Linked DNA regions of Homo sapiens: regions 1 and 2 are each linked to region 3. Evidence: promoter capture Hi-C in human tissues and cell types (Jung and others, 2019). All regions are on one chromosome and are shown on one strand. Each heading gives the region's core, a stretch centred on a gene start or on the middle of the fragment in contact. The rest is flanking DNA. Distances are from core to core; before and after follow the strand shown. Region 1 holds the start of RGS11 (regulator of G protein signaling 11). Region 2 overlaps FAM234A (family with sequence similarity 234 member A). Region 3 holds the start of POLR3K (RNA polymerase III subunit K).

What was found. Contacts are between HindIII fragments. The study calls those that stand out against the background at their distance.
Region 1: the fragment with the promoter of RGS11 here is called in contact with the fragment with the promoter of POLR3K in region 3 in 1 of the 25 tissues and cell types used here (H1 embryonic stem cells).
Region 2: a fragment that was not itself captured here is called in contact with the fragment with the promoter of POLR3K in region 3 in 1 of the 25 tissues and cell types used here (heart left ventricle).

The regions. Positions count from the first base shown.
Region 1 is chr16:273,762-277,495 of GRCh38, forward strand. RGS11 (regulator of G protein signaling 11) reads right to left here and starts at 2,183. Exons shown (of 17, transcript NM_183337.3): 1 at 2,088-2,183; 2 at 1,641-1,737; 3 at 1,522-1,572; 4 at 1,215-1,321; 5 at 453-504; 6 at 282-340; 7 at 1-75. The coding sequence starts at 2,150. RefSeq lists enhancers at 1-260, 1,448-2,099. The HindIII fragment of the contact is 15,363 bases long and covers 1-3,734 here.
Region 2 is chr16:242,796-246,740 of GRCh38, forward strand. The region is part of intron 1 of FAM234A (family with sequence similarity 234 member A); the gene reads left to right. Among named protein-coding and RNA genes, the nearest start is that of FAM234A, 9.9 kb to the left of the region's middle. The HindIII fragment of the contact is 7,678 bases long and covers 1-3,945 here.
Region 3 is chr16:50,980-54,857 of GRCh38, forward strand. It overlaps POLR3K (RNA polymerase III subunit K), which reads right to left and starts at 2,629. Exons shown (of 3, transcript NM_016310.5): 1 at 2,497-2,629; 2 at 579-666. The coding sequence starts at 2,607. It overlaps SNRNP25 (small nuclear ribonucleoprotein U11/U12 subunit 25), which reads left to right and starts at 2,849. Exons shown (of 5, transcript NM_024571.4): 1 at 2,849-3,079. The coding sequence starts at 3,038. RefSeq lists enhancers at 1,895-2,421, 2,150-2,309 and silencers at 2,640-2,959, 3,100-3,199. The HindIII fragment of the contact is 23,499 bases long and covers 1-3,878 here.

The sequences.
Region 1 (3,734 bases), core at 933-3,432, 220 kb after region 3:
CAGCTGCTCCCTCGCCTGCATCAGCACCAGGTCCCATGCGTGGTTGATCTTCTTGTGTAGCCGGTCATAGCAGTCCTGGGGGCAGCGAGGTTTCCAGTGGGTCACCCCGGCCCCTGCCCCCAGTGAGACTGTGTGGGCAGTTGGGGGGTTGGGGACTGTCTTGGGTTTTGGGGCCTGGGCTGTATGTTCTGGGGTAAACCGTGAAGCCCCGGGGGGCCGTGAGTGAGGCTTGGGTTCCTCCAGCTGTACCCAGCCGGGGCGGGAAGGGTGGGGGGTCCCACCTTCTCATAATCCACCAGGGTCCCCCGTTTTCGGATGTTCTTCTTGGCCAGGTAGATGGCTGGAAGAACAGGGACAGCCTGCAGAGGGGCCAGCTCTGCCCTGCCTCACGGCATCACCCTGAGGCCCCCAGTCCTGGGAACTTGTCTGGGGCCAGCCGTCCCCTTGCTCACCATAGTCCAGCTCTGCAGCCGGCCTCAGGGTACTTGTCCAGAAGTACGGGGTCTGGCGTGGTGCAGGGAGAAGGTGTCCAGGACGCCTGCGTCTGTGCCTCCCCAGTGTCACCCCACCCTCAGACCTCCCTGGGAAGAAGCCTGGGCTGGGCAGGAGGTGTCTGAGGATCTCCCTGCCTGCCCACCACCGAGAGACTCCACTGACCACTGGCCAGTCTCTCCAACTAGAACTGAGGTCAACTCGCTCCTTAGGGCCCTGTTCAGACACTGCCTCCCTCACTGGTCACCCTAAGCCCCCATTCAAGGCGGGGTGGGGCTGGGGGCCTGCACAAGTCTTGGATGTAGTCACAGTCTGTGCCTGGGGAGGGGTACAACCGACGGCAGGTCGGCCCGGGACCCTGATGTGGTTAGGGAGGGCAGGAATGCTGTCCTCAGGCCTTCACAGCCCCTCCCTCAGGACCTGGGCCTAGGGACCCCCAGGAAGATGGCAGAATCCTCTGCACATACGACCCCTTGTGGGGCCCTGCTGTGGTCCCCAGGAAAACTGAGGCTCCATCCCTCAGCCGGGTCCTTCTCACCACATCCGTACTTGCGGTCCAGGACTTTTGGGGAGGGGGCGATGGACCACCAGCCCACGGCGACATGGCGGAGTCCCACTCCAATCCCAGCAAGCTCGGCGCCCCTCCTGTCTCCCCGAGTTGGTAAGCTGGGTGGGTGGGGGTGGGGGTCCCACCGGCTCCCACCTGCACCCCCGAGCCTGACCTGGAACCTGTAGGGCGTCTCGTCTGGCCGGAGCATGAGGCTACGGGGGTCGCGCAGCGGGTAGATGTAGCCATGCTGCACCAGGACGGCGCCCAGGTGCAGGGCCTCTGGGGAGGGGTGGGACGGTGAGCGCGGGGCCGCGGAAGCGGGCGAGGGCGGGACGAGCCGGGCCTCCTCTCCCCTATGTGCTCCCCACCCTTGCACAGCGCGCTCAGCAGGGCTCTGAGAACTGCCAGACTCCAGGAAAACCCAGGCCTAGGCCACCAGCCCAGTGACCCCAGGGCCCAGTGGGAGGCAGGGCGCTCACCCTCCTCCGAGACGCAGAACTTCTGGGCCAACCACTGCACGACGTCGCTGCCTGCACGGGAGAGACAGAGGTGGAGGGAGGCCGAGGCGCGCACGCACCCCCGCCCCGGCGCGCCTCACCTGTCACCGCGTGGGGAATGACGGTGACCAGCAGGCGCTGGCTCCGCATCTTCACGCCCTGGTCGGGGTCCTGCATGCTCACGACCACCCGCTCCATCTGGGCGGAGGGAGTCGTCAGGGGGTGTCTGGCCGCCCCGCAACCCTGATTCCCTGGCACCGGCCGGGATGCCCCGGATCCGGGAGCGCGGAGATTAACGCGCGGCGGCGGCGGATTCCAGGCCGCAGCTGGCGGCGGGGACGCGGGGCGGGCCGGGGAGGGCCGGGGAGGGCCGGGGAGACCCCGGAGACCCCCAAGGGCCCCAGGCCTCGCCGCCCCTCCCGGCCTCGCAGACCTCCGCCCCAGGCCCGCCCCGCCCCGCGCGCCCCCGTGTCCCCATGCTCTCCGGCCCCTCCCGGCCTCGGGCGCCGGGAAATCGGGGGACGGCGGGACACCCACCCGCCTCGCACCTTCCTCAGATGCGGCATCTGCGCCCGGGGGCGGCCGGGGGGCGGCGCGGGGCCGGCGGCCATGGCTGCGGGGCGAGGCCGGCGGGGATGACCGACGTCCCGCCCGGCCCCGCCCCGCGCCGCGCCGCGCCCGGGTTAACCCTCGGGCCGCGAGGCCAGAGTCGCCCAGGCCCCGGTTCGGGTTTTAAGAGACACGGCCACGGCCCAGAGGCAAACGAGCCGGCCCCCCACGAGCGACCCGAGTCACCCCCCCGACCCAGGTCCCGGGACGCTGAGGCCCTCGTGGGTGAAGGCGAAGTGGGACGGGGGAGGGTGTGGGCCGGGGGCCGAGGGGGGATGTGAGGGGATGGAGCTCAGCTGGAGCAGGGGGTGGTCTCTGGGAGAGGCAGAGGGGCTCATCAGCGAGGGGGGGTTACTATGGGGAGGGTCTCAGGGAGGGCAGCGGAGGGGATGGGGGTTCAGAGAGGGAGAGGGGTTCCGTGAGTAGAGGAGACCCGTAGGGAGAGTGAACTGGGGTGGGAAACGTGGTTTAGGGCCCACTGTAACCCCGGTCCTATGTGTGGGGCCCTGAGGACATACAGGGACTAGAGGCCTGGCTGTGGGGCCGGGGCCAGGGCCAGCGGTATGACTGCCCGAGGCCTTGTGTCCTGCGATGCTTGTGGCCAAGACTGCATACATTGCTGTGACGGTGGCTGGTTAGGGGCAGGGTGCATGAGAGATTGGGTCAGCTTTCTACATGGGCCGGATGCCGGCTGTCAGTGGAGCACGTGGCTGCTGCAGAGTGTGACCCAGCTGTCCCCATCTCCTGCTGTGGGTCCCTTATCCGGGGTCCTTCCGGGAAAGTGGCTGATGGCTCATGGCTCACTTCCCTCAGCTCCACGCAGGCCTGGGTGGCCCGCTGGGGAATGAGCAGAAACCCTGCCCAGGGCACCCTGACACTGTTGGAGAGGAGCTTTACTGCAGGGAGGCCCTCAACACACACCCACTTAGTGTCACCGGCGGCCGCCAGGCTTCAGGCCCCACTCCACTCCCAGCTCTCTCCCTCCTCCAATGGCTATGCCTGTCCCCCAGGTGCACCCCGAGCCAGGCCCAGGATCTTCAGGCCCCACCGGGCAGTCTCGGCTCACTGCAACCTCCGCCTCCTGAATTCAAGCAATTCTCATGCCTCAGCCTCCTGAGTAGCTGGGATTACAGGCTCCCACCACCACGCCTGGCTAATTTTTATTTTTGTTTTTGTTTTTGAGACGGAGTCTCACTGTGTCACCCAAGCTGGAGTGCAGTGATGCGGTCTTGGCTCACTGCAGCCTCCGCCTCCTGGGTTCCAGCGATTCTCCTGTCTCAGCCTCCTAGGTAGCTGGGATTACAGGCACGCGCCACCACACCCAGCTAATTTTTGTATTTTTAGTAGAGATAGGGATTCACCACGTTGGCCAGGCTGGTTTCGAACTCCTGACCTCAGGTGATGTGCCTGCCTTGGCCTCCCAAAGTGCTAGGCTTATAGGTGTGAGCCACTGTGCCTGGCCGATTTTGGTATGTTTAGTAGAGATGGGGTTTCACCATGTTGGCCAGGCTGGTCTCAAACTCCTGACTTCAGGTGATCCACCTGCCTTGGCCTCCCAAAGTTCTGGGATGACAGGTGTGAGCCAC
Region 2 (3,945 bases), core at 348-2,847, 190 kb after region 3:
TAGAGATGGAGTTTCACCATGTTGGCCAAATTGGTCTCGAACTCCTGACCTTGCGATCCACCCACCTCAGCCTCCCAAAGTGCTGGGATTACAGGCGTGAGCTACCACGCCCATCCCGTGTCAGGTCTTTTACCTTAATTAATACGTATTGTATTGACAAATTTTCTTTTCTTTCTGAGCCCTCACTTTTTTTTTTTTTTTTGAAACAAGGTCTCACTCTGTTGCCCAAACTGGAATGTAGTGATAATGATCACAGCTCACTGCAGCCTCAACCTCTTGGGCTCAAGCTAACCTCCCACCTCAGCCTCCCAGGTAGCTGGGACTACAAGCACATGCCACTACACCTAATTTTATTTTACTTTTTGTAGAGATGGGGTCTCCCCATGTTGCCCAGACTGGTCTCGAACACCTGGCCTCAAGTCATCCTCCTGCCTCAGCCTCCCAAAGCACTAGGATTATAGGCGTGAACCACCCTGCCCGGCCATGAAGTTAAATTTTTGGTTATTAGCTTGTTGAGTTCTGTTTTCTGTTTTTTTAAATAGCCACATGGCCTGACTCTCTGTGGTCAATGGTATGGATGCTAAAGTAGAGCAAGGACAGTGCCCTGCTCAAGTCTCTCTGACCTGGGTCCATGGGGATTTTCTCTGCCAGTCAGGTTCCTGAAGCTCTGGCTACGGCTCCTGGTATTTTTAATGACCGCAGTAGAGAAAAACATTGGTATCTTCTTGCTGTTGATGAGCAAATCTTTGGACCTGTCTCATGGTGTCTTTATTTGCAAACTGGTTGAATCATGAACTGCCTGGCTTTGGCTGCCTTGCCGTTGTGGCTTTTAATAACTACCCCTATTTCTGGTGGCTCAGTCAAGTTTCCAAAAAGGAAGTCTTACCTGGAGATCCTGTGAAGGAATTCCTGACCAGCTTTTTAATTTTCCAAAGACAGGCCTTATTCGTGTTAAACACACACCCCTTTTCTGTGGCCAGGCCGGTGTGAAAGCATGTGCAGAGGCTGTATAGCAGTAAGAGTTCCCACCCCTTGGGGCATTTTCATTGTCACCACATTGTCTGACTTTGGAGACGACCCCTTTTAAACTCTGGCATTTGCTCAGGTAAGTATTTGGGGAGTATTGTTATAAATGCTGTGCATATCCGTTTTTTCCCCACAGTGGAAAGGAAAATGATTTTTTTTTTTTTTGAGTCGGAGTCTTGCTCTGTCACCCAGGCTGGAGTGCAGTGGTGCCATCTCGGCTCACTGCAACCTCCGCCTCCCAGGTTCACACCATTCTCCTGCCTCAGCCTCCTGAGTAGCTGGGACTACAGGCACCCGCCACCACGCCCGGCTAATTTTTTCTATCTTTAGTAGAGATGGGGTTTCACCGTGTTAGCTAGGATGGTCTCGATCTCCTGACCTTGTGATCCACCCGCCTTGGCCTCCCAAAGTGCTGGGATTACAGGCGTGAGCCACCGCGCCCGGTCGGAAAATGATTTTAATGGATGGTTTTGAGGAAGCTGGTGATTATTTTGTAATGGAGAATTGTAACATGCCAGGGGTTTGGCTCTTCTTTCAGTATTTCTTCAGGCTACCACAAAACTCCACTATTGATATTCTTCCAAAAATAAACAAAACACTAAAAGGACTCCTGCCTTTGGAACAAAATAGCTTCATATTAAGGTAGCTTTGAGGCACAAACCAAGCTGCCTGTGGAGAAGCTGGTTCTTCCTCTAAAACTTACATGAACCTCTGACCCCACTCCCCCTTACTAACGGTTTTCTTTTCTCTTTTGATTTTCTATTTTATACTTTTTATTTTGGACTACTTATAGATTCACAAAATGTTGTAAAAATAGCACAGGGCTGGACCCTGAAGTCTGCTTCCCTGAATGGTAACCTCTTTTTTTTTTTTTTTTTTTTTTTGAGACGGAATTTTGCTTTTGTTGCCCAGGCTGGAGTGGAATGGCACGATCTTGGCCACTGCACCCTCTGCCTCCCAGGTTCAAGTGATTCTCCTGCCTCAGCCTCCCGAGTAGCTGGGATTACAGGCATGCACCACCACGCCCGGCTAATTTTTTTTTGTATTTTTAGTAGAGATGGGGTTTCTCCATGTTGGTCAGGCTGGTCTCAAACTCCCGACCTCAGGTGATCTGCCCGCCTCAGCCTCCCAACGTGCTGGGATTACAGGCATGAGCCATCGCGCTCGACCAATAACTACCATTTCAAATTCCCACGACTATTGTACTGCAGACCTGTTATCGTATATTCTCACCAACACATTTTAAAATGCTTAACTTTTAGGCTGGGCGTGGCCCACACTTTGGGAGGCTGAGGCAGGCAGATCACTTGGGCCCTGGAGTTTGAGACCAGCCTGGGCAACGTGGCGAAACTCTGTCTCTACAAAAAATACAAAAATTTGCCCGGCGCGGTGATGCACACCTGTGGTCCCAGCTACTTTATAGGCTGAGGTGGGAGAATCTCTCGAACCCAGCAGGAGGAGGTTGCAGTGAGCCTAGATCACCACTGCCCTCCAGCCTGGGCCACAGAGTGAGACCCTGTCTCAAGATCAGATAAAATGAAATGCTTAACTTTTGTTAATGTCATTGGTCCTGCTGTGTCTATGAGTGAGACTGAGTGTGTTTCCCCTGGGCACCGGCCACTGGCGTGTGCTCTTCAGTGAACTGCCCAGTTATGAATTCGTTTCCTGTTTCCCCACTGGGGTCCTTGCCTTTCTTTTGTGGGTTTGTGAAAACCCTAAGAATATTTATCCTGGTTTGTTTTGTGGAGCTAACAACAATCTTTTGGCTTCCCTGGGCCACGTTGGAAGAATTGTCTTGGGCCACACATAAAGTACACTAACACTAATGATAGCTGATGAGCTGAAAAAAAAAAATTGCAAAAAAATCTGTGAATGTTTTAAGAAAGTTTCTGAATTTATGTTAGGCCACACTTCAAGCCATCCTGGGCCGAGGGTTGGACAAGCTTGGGTTAGACATTTCATAATATATTTAGTTCATCAGTGTTTTTCTTAATGATTTCCACCTTTGGGGTCATGCGTTCAAGACTTTCCCTAACAATACATAAACATTCTCTTCTATTTTCTTTTAGTTTAATGTTTGTTAAAAATAATGTTTACATTTTTGGCCAGGCGCAGTGGCTCACGCCTGTAATCCCAGCACTTTGAGAGGCTTAGGTGGGCAGATCACGAGGTCAGCAGTTCTAGACCAGCCTGATCATCATGGTGAAACCGTCTCTACTAAAAATACAAAAATTAGCTGGGTGCGGTGGTGGGTGTGGTGGTGGGTGCCTATAGTCCCAGCCACTCAGGAGGCTGAGGCAGGAGAATCGCTTGAACCCAGGAGGCAGAGGTTGCAGTGAGCCAAGATCACGCCATTGTACTCCCGCCTAGGTGACAGAGCAAGATTCTGTCTCAAAAAAATAATAATAATAATAATAATGTTTACATTTTTAATTCATTTGGAGTTTATCTTGATTGGTGGATTTTTTTTTTTTTTTGTGACGAGGTCTCACTCTCACCCAGGCTGGAGCACAGTGGTGCAGTCTCGGCTCACCGCAACCTCTGCCTCCTGGGTTCAAGCAGTTCTCCTGCCTCAGCCTCCTGAGTAGGTGGTGGCTTTTTTTTTTTTTTTTTTTTTTGAGATAGTCTTGCTCTGTCGCCCAGGCTGGAGTGCAGTGGTGCGATCTTGGCTCACTGCAAGCTCTGCCTCCCGGGTTCACGCCATTCTCCTGCCTCAGCCTCCCGAGTAGCTGGGACTAAAGGTGCCCGCCACCACACCCGGCTAATTTTTTGTATTTTTAGTAGAGATGGGGTTTCACCGTGTTAGCCAGGATGGTCTCAATCTCCTGACCTTGTGATCCGCCCGCTTTGGCCTCCTAAAGTGCTGGTATTACAGGCGTGAGCCACCATGCCCAGCCAGCTGGTGTTTTTTTTTTTTCG
Region 3 (3,878 bases), core at 1,379-3,878:
GAGAACTCACTCACTATCAGGAGAACAGCATGGGGGGAAACCGCTCCCATGATTCAATTACCTCCCACTGGGCCCCTCCCAGGACACCTGGGGATTACGGAAACTATAATTCAAGATGAGATTAGGGTGGAGACACAGCCAAACCATATCAAACAGAAAGAACATACTTTTTTCCTTAGACTCTTATTTTTATTAATCTACTCATCATTGCCATTATCAAAGCTATCACCTGTTGAGTGCCTCTTATATACCAAGCACGGTATAATTCACTTTATGCTCTCGCGGTCTACGAATATGGATTAGCCCCAGAGAAGTCAAGAGACCCAAGGAAGGTCCTACAACAATACAAGGTTGCCCTGAGAATCTGACCCGGGCCTGTATGACTCCAAGGCTGGCACAAATATTGCTTGTCTGACAGATTATTAAACAGTAACAAATACAAATAAATTATTCAAGAACCATTTTCTATTTTTAGAAACCTACATCATTTATATGACATCATAGACTCTGCCAAGCAGTGGCATCAACAGCCTCATAATTATCCACAGTTTAGCAACAGAAACAGTTTTCCCTCTTACCTGCAGTAGAGTCAACATTCTCCCAGGCAGCTGCTCCACCAAGCACATCATCCACTTCTTTCAGTTTTGGGTACTTCCGATTTGTTACCTAACAAAAACAACACTTCAGACTCCAAGTAACTGAATAGCGCAAACCTGGGCTGCCAAACCTTAAATTTCAGGATTACATAAGAGTTCACTCGGCTGGGCGTGGTGGCTGACACCTGTAATCCCAGCACTTTGGGAGGCCAAGACGGGCGGATCACGAGGTCAAGAGATCGAGACCATCCTGGCTAACACGGTGAAACCCTGTCTCTACTAAAAATACAAAAAATTAGCCCGGCGTGTTGGCGGGCGCCTGTAGTCCCAGCTACTCAGGAGGCTGAGGCAGGAGAATGGTGTGAACCTGGGAGGCGGAGCTTGCAGTGAGCCGAGATCACACCACTGCACTCCAGCCTGGGCTACGGAGCAAGACTCCATCTCAAAAAAAAAAAAAAACAAAGAGTTCACTCTTCCCGTAGTTTCAAACTCCAAACTCCCACAACACAGTACAAACTGGAGTAGCATGCAAACATTAAGACTGACGTAGCACCAACATATTCTAACTGCTAAAAAGTAAAGGTATTCTGGCCAGGCGTGGTGGCTCACGCCTATAATCCCAGCACTTTGGGAGGCCAAGGCAAGCGGATCACCTGAGGTTGGGAGTTCGAGACCAGCCTGGCCAGCGCGGTGAAACCCCGTCTTTACTAAAAATACAAAAATTAGCCGGGGATGGTGGCAGGCGCCTGTAATTCCAGCTACTCGGGAAGCCGAGGCAGAAGAATTGCTTGAACCCGGGAGGCAGAGGTTGCAGTGAGCCGAGATTACGCCATTGCACTCCAGCCTGGGAAACAGAGCGAGACTCTGTCTCAAAAAAAAAAAAAAAAAAAAAAAAAAAAAAAAAAAAAAAAAGGTCGGGCGCGGTGGCTCACGCCTGTAATCCCAGCACTTTGGGAGGCCGAGGCGGGCAGATCACGAGGTCAGGAGACCGTCCTGGCTAACACACGGTGAAACCCCATCTCTACTAAAAATACAAAAAAATCAGCCAGGGGTGGTGGCGGACGCCTGTAGTCCCAGCTAATTGGGAGGCTGAGGCAGGAGAGTGGCGTGAACCCGGGAGGCAGAGCTTGCAGTGAGCCGAGATCGCGCCACTGCACTCCAGCCTGGGCGACAGAGCGGGACTCCGTCTCAAAAAAAAAAAAAAAAAAAAAAAAAAAAAACAATAAAAAAAAATAAAGAAAGCACACAATACATTACATAATATATTAGAAGGTAATAAGCCCTATGGAAACAATTACAAAGGGAAGGAGAATAAATTGGAAGGAGGGGCTGAAATTTAAAATACGGTAAAGACAAGACCAATGAGTAAGGTGGCGATCTAGGGGAAGAGTGAACTGAGCAACAGCAAGTGCAAAGGCCCTGCTAGCACCATGAGCACGATGAGAGATCGTCCAGGAGGCGGTGTTGATGCGGCAAAGGGCAACAGGAAGGGCATTAGGACTTGAAATCGGAGACGCACGCAGGGGAGGGAGTCAGTGTCGGAACCTGGTAGGCCCTGGGAGAACTCCGGCTTTTCGTCTGCGTGAGCTGGAGAAGAGCCGAAGGTTTCTGCGCACAGCACGGACCTGCGTGCCTCAGCTTTAAGGAAATCACCGTGGCCGCCGCTGTGAACGCAGAGAAGGGCGCGAGCGTGGGAGCAGGAACCCAAGGCGGTGGGAAACGGTGGGGCTTTCTGAGTGTATTGGAAAGTAGAGCCCACAGATCTGCTGCAGACCAGAAAGGGGCGCGAGAAAGAGCGGACAGAGGCAGACGCCGGGGCTGGCGGCGATGGAGCAGCAGTCGGAGGACGCGGAAGGCCTGCGAGAGTCGCCCGCGCCCAGCGCCGGCCTTCGGGTCCCACCTTGCGGGTGATGTTGTGCACGTAGGGGCACGTGTTGCAGGCGAAGCGGTGGCAGCGTTGTCCCTCCTCCACGATCAGCCCGTTCCCGCAGCCGGGGCAGAACAGCAGCATGGTCTCGAACTCCGCAGGCTCCAACTCCCGGCAGCTCCCACTGCCGCTCAGCGCCGATGCGCCGCCCGCCTCGAGCTCACATTGGTCCTGGCAGCCTTCCCGCCACACCAACCAACCAATAGACAGGGCGATTCTGCGCTCCCGGCCCTGCTGCAGGCTGTCTCGCACTTGTCATTGGTCACTGCAGCCGCCCCACCCCCCCCGGCGCGCCAGTGGCTGGGCGGCCTCGCTGGGGCGGGCCGCAGTTCCTGCGCGTGCGCGCTTGGCCTCCCTAGTGCGGGCTGGCAGTGCGGGCAGAGCCCGGCTGAGAGGGGCGGCCCTGGAGGAGACGGAGGCCGCGGGTGGGCCCGAGGCGCAAGAGGAAGATGAGGACGAAGAAGAGGCGCTGCCGCACTCCGAGGCCATGGACGTGTTCCAGGAGGGTCTGGCTATGGTGGTGCAGGACCCGCTGCTCTGCGATCTGCCGATCCAGGTGTGTGCGGGCGGGGGCTGGGGGCGCGGGAGTCGTTCCCCGGGGTCCGGGCATCCGGGCGCCGGCAGCCTCCGAAGGTGCTGGTGGGAGACTGCGGCCCAAGGCTGAGGAAGGCGCCTCTGGGCGTAAACGAGGGTTTTAACCTTGACCGGGCGCACTCGCCTGGGGCGCGAAGCTTAAAGAGGAACCAAAAACCTCATTAGTGAGTGACATCAAATGACATTTTAATGTAATTGTATTTAGGGGGCTCGGGGGACAGGGTCTTGCTGCGTTGCCCGGGCTGGAGTGCAGCGGCGTCCTCCCACCTCAGCCTCCCGAGTAATTGGGACCACAGGTGCGCGCTACCACACCCGGCTAATTTTTAAATATTTTGTACAGAGGGAGTCTCACTATGTTGCCCAGGCTGATCTGAAACTCCTGGGCTCAGGCGATCCTCCTGCCTCGGCCTCCCAAAATGCTGGGATTTAGGTGTGAGCCACCCGCCTGGCCTGTAATACCTTTAAAAGTCAAAGTTGAGGCAAAAAAAGAGCCTACGGTAAAAGAAAAATTTAGTTTTAAATAAGAGCAAGATTAGTAGTACTGATTGTTCCATTTGCCTCAAGCGTCAATCATGTGTCAAAGCGTCAGTATCATGCTTTGGGACGATACTGTCTTTTTATTTATTTATTTATTTATTTGAGACTGAGTCTTGGTCCGTTGCCAGGCTGGAGTGTAGTGGTGCCATCTCGACTCACTGCAACCTCCCCCTCCCGGGTTCACTACAGGCACGCGCCACCACGCCCGGCTAATTTTTTGTATT